Linked DNA regions of Homo sapiens: region 2 is linked to region 1. Evidence: promoter capture Hi-C in 16 types of primary human blood cells and fetal thymus (Javierre and others, 2016). All regions are on one chromosome and are shown on one strand. The core of a region is centred on a gene start or on the middle of the fragment in contact, and the rest is flanking DNA. Distances in the headings are between cores, read along the strand shown. Region 1 holds the start of BRD7 (bromodomain containing 7). Region 2 holds the start of ZNF423 (zinc finger protein 423).

Evidence for each region. The method cuts DNA at HindIII sites, captures the fragments that hold promoters and counts their contacts. A CHiCAGO score of 5 or more calls a contact.
Region 2: a fragment that was not itself captured here is called in contact with the fragment with the promoter of BRD7 in region 1 in 3 of 17 cell types (neutrophils, naive B cells and monocytes); the score reaches 6.0 in neutrophils.

What each region holds. Positions count from the first base shown.
Region 1 is chr16:50,366,938-50,370,753 of GRCh38, reverse strand. It overlaps BRD7 (bromodomain containing 7), which reads left to right and starts at 1,766. Exons shown (of 17, transcript NM_013263.5): 1 at 1,766-2,028; 2 at 2,456-2,664. The coding sequence starts at 1,980. RefSeq lists silencers at 1,588-1,837, 1,868-2,377. The HindIII fragment of the contact is 8,339 bases long and covers 858-3,816 here.
Region 2 is chr16:49,854,486-49,858,301 of GRCh38, reverse strand. It overlaps ZNF423 (zinc finger protein 423), which reads left to right and starts at 2,190. Exons shown (of 8, transcript NM_001379286.1): 1 at 2,190-2,567. The coding sequence starts at 2,528. RefSeq lists a silencer at 2,687-2,946. The HindIII fragment of the contact is 5,566 bases long and covers 1-3,816 here.

The DNA.
Region 1 (3,816 bases), core at 517-3,016:
AGGGTAGGGAAATTACTAACTTGATAGTATGGATGAGTTCACCAGACCTTTTTCCTCTGAGGGGCATTTGGACAGTAGTAGTCACTGTGCTAGGCACTGTAAGTACCAAGGAGGTACCCAGGGTAATGAGGAGCAGACAGGTAAACCCACAGGTTGAGCCTGGAGCAAGGCAATGCCACAATAGAGGCCAGACCCACAGTGGGAGTTGGCATAGTGGTTCTTAAAGCAAAATAAGTTACAGACAGTGGATGAAAAGCTGAAACCAAGCTTTGCCCTATGCTTAGGGGGCCTAGGGGGCCTAGCTGGCTTGATTTCAGAGCAGCAGAAGGTCTCTTCCCCAACACAACCCCTCTTCCCACACCCTGATCTCTGCCTCACGGACACCAGAGAGGCTTGTTACAGGGAAATAATAGACACACACTTTTAGCTTTCATGAAAAAGCAACTCTCTTCATTAGAAGAACCTCATCTTCCCTGGCTAACCATAGAAGTCTGGCAGGAGCTGCCAATCACAGACTCCACTTCTCTTGGCCAAGGGGGTGAGGGGGTAGATTTGGCATCCAGGCCGAATCAATCTCCCATCCCCTGTCCCATAAAACATGTGACACAAGCCAAGCCAATCAGAGTCCTTCCCTGGGACTGTTTTCCAGGTGAAGCTGACAGGAAGAGATCTTTTTCCCAGTTGGTCAGGACACTATAAAGAAGAGGCCTCAGAAGCAGATGGTGGCCATGTTTCCAGCCATATAGGAAAGAAGGGGGGAGATGGAGACCGATATACAGAGAGACAAGAGAGAGAGCGAGCTGGCATGCCAGTCAACAGCATTACATCCTTGGTTCCTGTCTTCCCTCTGGCAAGCTTTATTCTTGCCCTTTCTAGACATGTAAACCAATAAATCCCTTTTTATTTACTTGAAATAATTCAAATTGGTTTCTATTAGTTGCCAACAATAGGGTCCTAAAATATAAGCCTATAATTTCACCACTGAAGTTCAAGGTAAAGCTACAAATCTTCCTGGGAGAGGTGATTCATGGGTCTAAATTGTTACTAAAGTATAAATGACTGATAACAGATCCTTTCTTAAGAGGAGACTATAATTACGAGCTTATCTGAAAACAGACAAAGCACCATACAGCTAGAAGTAAAGACAGTCAAAACGTCTGGTAACCTTCACCTATCAGCACATAAGTTTTTTTTAAGATTAGAATCTTCAGTCACCAATGTGCTGAGTTTGCTGGGTCTGGCACCCAGTATGGGGTTCAGTCAATATCGTAAAAGGGAAGAAACAGAAGCAAGGGAAAGTGGAAAGAAAGGAAGAGTGGGGGAAGGAGGAAGGGGAAAAAAAGAAAAGAAAAAAAGAGGGAAGGAGACGGGAAGAGGAGAAGGAAGGGTGATGAGGGAGGAAGAAAAGAGAGAAGGAAGGCTTGAAGGGAGGCAGTAAGGAGGGAAGAAAGAAAGGAAGGAAGGAGGAAGGAAGGGAAGAAGGGAAAGAGAAAGAAAGAGAGGGAGGGAGTAAAAAGAAGGGAGGGAAGTGGAGACGGAGGGAGAGACACACAGAGACAGAGACAAGACAGACAAATTGAGGGGAAAGGGAGGAAGGAAGAAAGACGAGAGTCTGAGCGGTGGATCCCGCCCCGGCCCCGCCCTCGGCCCCGCCCCCGGCCCGCGAGCTGCAGCACCACCTCCGGTCGCCAGGGGCCGCCACCCGCAGCCGCCGGCACCCTGTGCGCGCGGCGGGCCTTCTTTCCCGCCTCTGCGCCGGCCGCGCGCCCCCCCCGCCGCCGCTCTCGGGCTCCGGCCGGGTCTCGCGCGCCGTCTTCTCGAGAGGGGCATCGCGCCGCCCGGCGCGCGCCGCCCCCCTGCCTCGCGGCGCGGGGTCTCGCGGGCCCCGCTCCCGCCCTCCGCTCGCCTGGCCCGGACCGGAAGCGGCGCCGCACGGCCTGGGCCTGGCGCGGGGGGCGGGCACCGGGGCCCGGTCGGACATGGGCAAGAAGCACAAGAAGCACAAGTCGGACAAACACCTCTACGAGGGTGAGGAGGGGGCCGGGGTGCGGGCGGCGGGCCCTCGGCGGCTCTGCCGGGCTTCCGCTCTTTCCCAGTGGCTCCGGGGCGGCCCGGGGCCCTTCCTTCCCACGGCAGGCCCAGGCCGGCGAAGGGGGCGCGTCCTGCCGGAGGCCGCGCTGCCCCCCGTGCGGCCGCGGCATTCGAACCCGGGTCCCCCTGGTCCGGTGGGTCTCTGGTGGGGAGACGTGAGGCGGGCCCGGGAGGCCTGGGAGCGTTCGGGGCGGGCGGCGCCGCCGCACCCCCGGGCCGGGGTCCGTCATTCAACAGGTGCTTCGCGGAGCGCCCAAAGCCGCCTCGGGCTTGCTGCGCCTTGGCGCTCTGCATCCTTAGCACTCCCTGGAGAGCCCCGATTTTAATCGACGCGCTTTCCTTTCTTTTCTTTTCTTTTTTTAAGAGTATGTAGAGAAGCCCTTGAAGCTGGTCCTCAAAGTAGGAGGGAACGAAGTCACCGAACTCTCCACGGGCAGCTCGGGGCACGACTCCAGCCTCTTCGAAGACAAAAACGATCATGACAAACACAAGGACAGAAAGCGGAAAAAGAGAAAGAAAGGAGAGAAGCAGATTCCAGGGGAAGAAAAGGGGAGAAAACGGAGAAGAGTTAAGGTACAAGTGGTTACATTGCTTTGGCTTTGCGGACGGCACTGCCTCTTCCAGGTGCCAACCTCATTTTATTTTCTTTGTATCTGGGGAAAACAAACGCCTCTAAGATCTGGCTCGTTTGAGGAGGAGCAGGACAGAATAGAGACATGAATCATCTATGAGTTTCAGCAAGTCGTTTTTGGATTATACTCTTAGGCAATTGTACTCGCACATCAGGTGAGGAAGCAGCTAAGTCCAAATTTTGAGGAGCTGCTTCAAAGAATGGTTTTTCCATCTAGGCAGGGTAAAAAGTCATGCTCAAGAAAGCCTCAGTGTTCAAGGATTGTCAAAAATAGTCATTTCAGAAGCGAGTGGGATCTACTGGGGTTTAAAGTTTGTTCTGAAATAAATATTATAATGCCAAATCTGTAATGAGCAACTTTAAATCTTTTAAAACAGTGTTGTAGTGTGTTGAGAAAATTTGGTCAGAAACCTGTAATGGAGATTGATATTCTTAACCATTTGCATTTAACAGAAAAGAATGAGTAGCTACCATCTTGGTTTGAAAGCTGGGCAAAATAATAATTAATGGCTGGGCCCAGTAGCCCACACTTGTAATCCCAACACTTTGGAATGCCGAGGTGGGAGGATTGCTTGAGGCTGGAAGTTCGAGACCAGCCTGGGCAACATAGCAAGGCCCTGCCTCTGCAAAATAAACTACAAAAATTTCCAGAGCCTGGTGGTGTGCACCTGTGTCCCAGCTATTCAGGAGGCTGAGGTGGGAGGATCCCTTGAGCCCAGGAGTTTGAGGTACAGTGAGGTATGATCATACCACTGCACTCCAGCCTGGGCAATAATACGAGACTCTGTCTCTAATAATAATAACATTGTTATTACTGTTATTAACTTTCCAAATTTAACCTGCCACTGAACGACTTATTACATCAATTATTGTGAAGGTAAATTTTCATAGGTTAGTTATGTAATTTTTCTTATGTTTATATATACAAGAGGAGCTTTCTCTTCCATGTGATTGAACACATTGCTAAGTCACCAAGTCTTAGAGATCTTATTTTGGGGATTTCTTAAGTCTATTCCTTCCCTTTTGTCCCAGTTTTTATTACCTTTGGCTAGGTAGGAGTAATGTTTTGTTTTCTTCCTTAAATTATAAAACCC
Region 2 (3,816 bases), core at 382-2,881, 510 kb after region 1:
GGCTGGCCGGCAGGCTGGGGAGCGGCGGGGCGCGGGCACCCTGCGTGGGGCGGGCGCCGCGGCCCGGCCGGCCCCGGCGCTGTTCTCGGCGGGCAGCGGGTTTTTCCGTGAAAGGTTGCCCTGGGTAACTCGTCTCCGAGGGGACGTAGCCCTCCCCTCTCCAAGTGGCAACTTATCGATCCGAGAGATTGATAACCCCCAGCGCCGCGCCGTGCACCCGCTCCGTTCTCCTGGCTCCGGGGCGCGCCGGCCCAAGGTGGCGCCACTCACCCGGGAGGGGGGCGAGGTCGGGGCCGCTCCCCACCCGAGACCTGGCCGCCTGCAGCTAGTTGGGGAGGGAGAGGCTCCGAGGAACGGTTTAGGGGAGCCGTCTGGGGAAGACTTTTCCCAAGTCAGAACCCTTCCCGGGCCTGCCCGGAGACCAGAGTCTCAGCCGGTTCAGGAGCTGCGGGGGACGCGCGGCGCCCCCTGGCGGCTGGGTAAAACCTCGCAGAAAGTAGCAGCTGGTTTATTTCTTCTGACAACTGCGCGGGGAGGGGGTGCTCCTGCAAGGTCTCAGGGGTAAGGTGTTCCTTTTACAGTCGGACAGAGGAAGTGCACACCAGGCGCGAGAATTCTACAAATAAGGGTGTAGGGGGCGCACGGGGTTAGCCCAGTGGTGGAAGAATTTGTTGGATGTGGGGCAGGGGTGGTCTTTGAACACCGACCGGTGGGCAAAAGCCAACCTGGCAGAGCCAGGTCCCTGGATAGTTCATGTGCGTGAGGCATACATCGCGAGGTGGCAATACTAGGGCAGCCCAACTCCGTTTGCTCCCCCATTCTTTCACTTTTTACAGTTTGTGAGGCTCATGCGTCTTGGCGAGCTTGACAGCCGCGTGGGCCCTAAGTGTGTTCCCTCCTCCTGCCCCCGGTGCAGCCAGCGCCCGAGCCCCGGCCCCGCGTGCTGGTGCGGTGCCCGCGCCCGCGCCGTGCCTGCCGCCGCCGCCGCCGCCGCCACCACGGTCCGGGTTTTGCGGGCGGCCGGAGCTGTATTTCCAGCGCTGTCCATCGCTCGGTGCTGTTGGCCCTCTCTCCGTCTGATCCGAGCCGGAGCAGTGCGGGGCGCCCCACGGGATCAGAGCGCTCCCCCGCCGGGACTCCGCTCCTCACATCCTCCTGCTGGGACCCGGCTACATTTCCAGCCAAGCCTGGCTTTATTATGTGTCTCTGCAGTGCAGCCCCAGCAGCCGGATCGGGAGGAGGAGAGCCAGCGACCACAAAGAAGACAGGAGCGCGAGGGAGGCTGGCGGGCGGGCCGGCGCCGGCTGGAGCGCGGAGGAGCCGGGGCGCAGCCGCCGCCGCCGCTGCCCAGGAGGACGGGAGCCCGGCCGCCGCCGCCGCCGCCTGCTCGTCCTCCTCTTCCGCCACCGCGGCCGCCGCCTCCCCCCTCTCCGAGCCCCTGGCCCATGGAGGCAGCTAGCGGGGCCGGCGACTTGGCACCGGCCTGGGGATCGGCTGCGCGCCTCGCGCTGAGCACCGCAGCCCGAGGGCAGGCAGCGGCGGCCCGGCGCACGGGCTGAGCGATGCCCGGGGCACGGGCGCGCCTGCCGGCCGCCGCCTGAGCGCCCCCGCGCGCCCCTTCCTCCTCCGGGGGGCCGGCGCCGGGCCGATCCGAGAGCCAGAGAAGGGGGCGTGAGCCAGGGGCCCCGAGCCGCGGCTTCCGAGCCACTGCGGCCGTTTCGAGCCTCCCCTCCAAGTAGGCTGAGTTGAGGGACCCCCGCCCCCCATCCATCATAATCTCCAAACCAGGCGCTTGGGCATTTTTGAGCCATTAATATTTATTATTTTTTTTTGTGCGGCAGGGGATAATTCGAAGGCTTCTTTTTTTTTTTTTTCCTGGGGGGTACTGAGCTTCCGCGCTCCCGACCGCCTCCCGGTCTCCTCCCCCCTTGAGATACCCTCGACTCCAGCCCCGTTCCCCCTCCTCAGATGGGTTCATTGTGAGCTCCGCACCGGGCTGCGTGGCCGGACGCCTGCAAACTTTGCACAAAAATCCGGCAAGGGGCGGAGGAGGAGGAGAAGGAGGAGGAGGGTGAGGGTGGCGGTAGGGTGGGGGAGGGAAGGAGGGGGCCGCAGGGGCCGGGGGCCGGCGGGGGGTTGGGAGGAGGAGGGGGGCGGCTTTTTTTTTTTTTTTTTTTTTTTTTTTTTTGCATAACTCGGCTCGGCCGAGTGGCCTCCGGACTCCCCGCGCCGCTGGGACCGCCGCTTGGATCGGGAGCCCCGGACTGCCGCATTGCAACAGGCAGGGCCCCGGCGCGCCCCCCGGGCCTCCCCCCGCCTTCGAGCGGCCTCGGCCGGCCCGGGCTGCCCCCCCAAGGGAGGCCGCCCCGGACCTGCGGTCCGCTCCCCACAGCCGCCAACCGGGCTGCAAAAAAAAAAGTTTCCAAGAGACAGGCGGAGGAGAAGGGGGAGAAGGGCTGCCCGGAGCGGCGGGGGGCGGCGGGGGGAGCCGGCTGCGGAGGGCGACGGAGCGCCCGGAGCCCCGGACATGTCCAGGCGGAAGCAGGCGAAGCCGCGCTCGGTGAAAGGTGAGCGAGCGAGGCCCGGCGGAGGCGCGAGCGAGCGAGCGAGGAGGGAGGGAGCGAGGGAGGAGGGACCGGCGAGCGGGCTGGCTGCCGGGGACCCGCGCGAGCGAGCCGAGAGGAGGAGGAGGAGGCGGCAGAGGAGGCGGAGGCGGAGGCGGAGGCGGAGGAGGGGGAGGAGGAAGCCGGGAGCAGGAGGCGGAGGCGGCGGCGGCGGCGGCGGCGGCGGAGGGGGTACGCCGCGGACACCCTCCCTGCCCGGACTCGGCGCCGTCGCCCTTGGGGGACCCAGGCCTGGGGGCGCCGCTAAGGGGCCCTTGCCGCTCCCTCCGTGCGGGGCCCGGGCCCGTGTGGCCAATCAAGGGGTGCTGGCCCGACTTGGCGGGGATTGCGAATCTCGGCGGCGGCGGGCGGGCGACAGGAGGAAGGAAGAGGCGGCGAGGACGGGCGCCCGGCAGGCCGACCGCTCCTCGCTGGCCCCGGGCCTCGCTGGCTCTCTCTGGCCCCTGCCTGGTCGCCCGAGGACGCGGGGAGCGGCGGGCGCTGTCGGCGAGCGCCCCGGGCGCCGCGCCCTCGCCCCGGCCGCCTGGCGCCCCCTCCCGCCCCTGCCCAGGCCTTCTCCCGGCCCGGGCCCCTGCACTTCCTGCCTCCTCCACCGAGGCCCACCGGGCAGGGAGCCTCCGCCAGGAGTTCATTGTCTGCACGGCGCCGGCGGGACGCAGGTCCTCAGGGGAGCTCAGCGGCCGCGGTGCGCGCCCCTCCGCGGAGGGCGCCCCGGATCTGACCCCGGGCACCGGCACCCTGGATCTGACCCCGGGCACCGGCACCCTCGACACCCAGGCCGGCTTTCTGTGCTGGCTCCCCGGGGTGCGCGCGTTTGTGGGGAGCTGCAGATATATAGATACACACACCCATCCCTTCGTCTCCACGCTTTGCTTTCTATTTCCAGCGAGGGCCCCCAGCTCGAGGGGACCCCTGGAGAGTAGAGGCCCCGGGGAAAGGCCGCGCGCCGGCAGCAGAGCCCCTCCCCTGGCCTCCTCTCCCCGCGGCTGGCCTTTCCAGGCCTTGCCTGCTGCTTTGTCCCGATTCTAGCCCCTCGGTTGGGTGCCCGGGCGCTCGGCTGTGAGATGGGAGATGATCGAGGAAGGGGGGAACGATGAGAGCGGCTAAGTCTACGGAGCCAAAAGCCCCCAGGCCCTTGTCTTCTCCCATCTCCCCTGATGACCTCTGGCCTGAGCCCAGTTCTGCTCTGAAA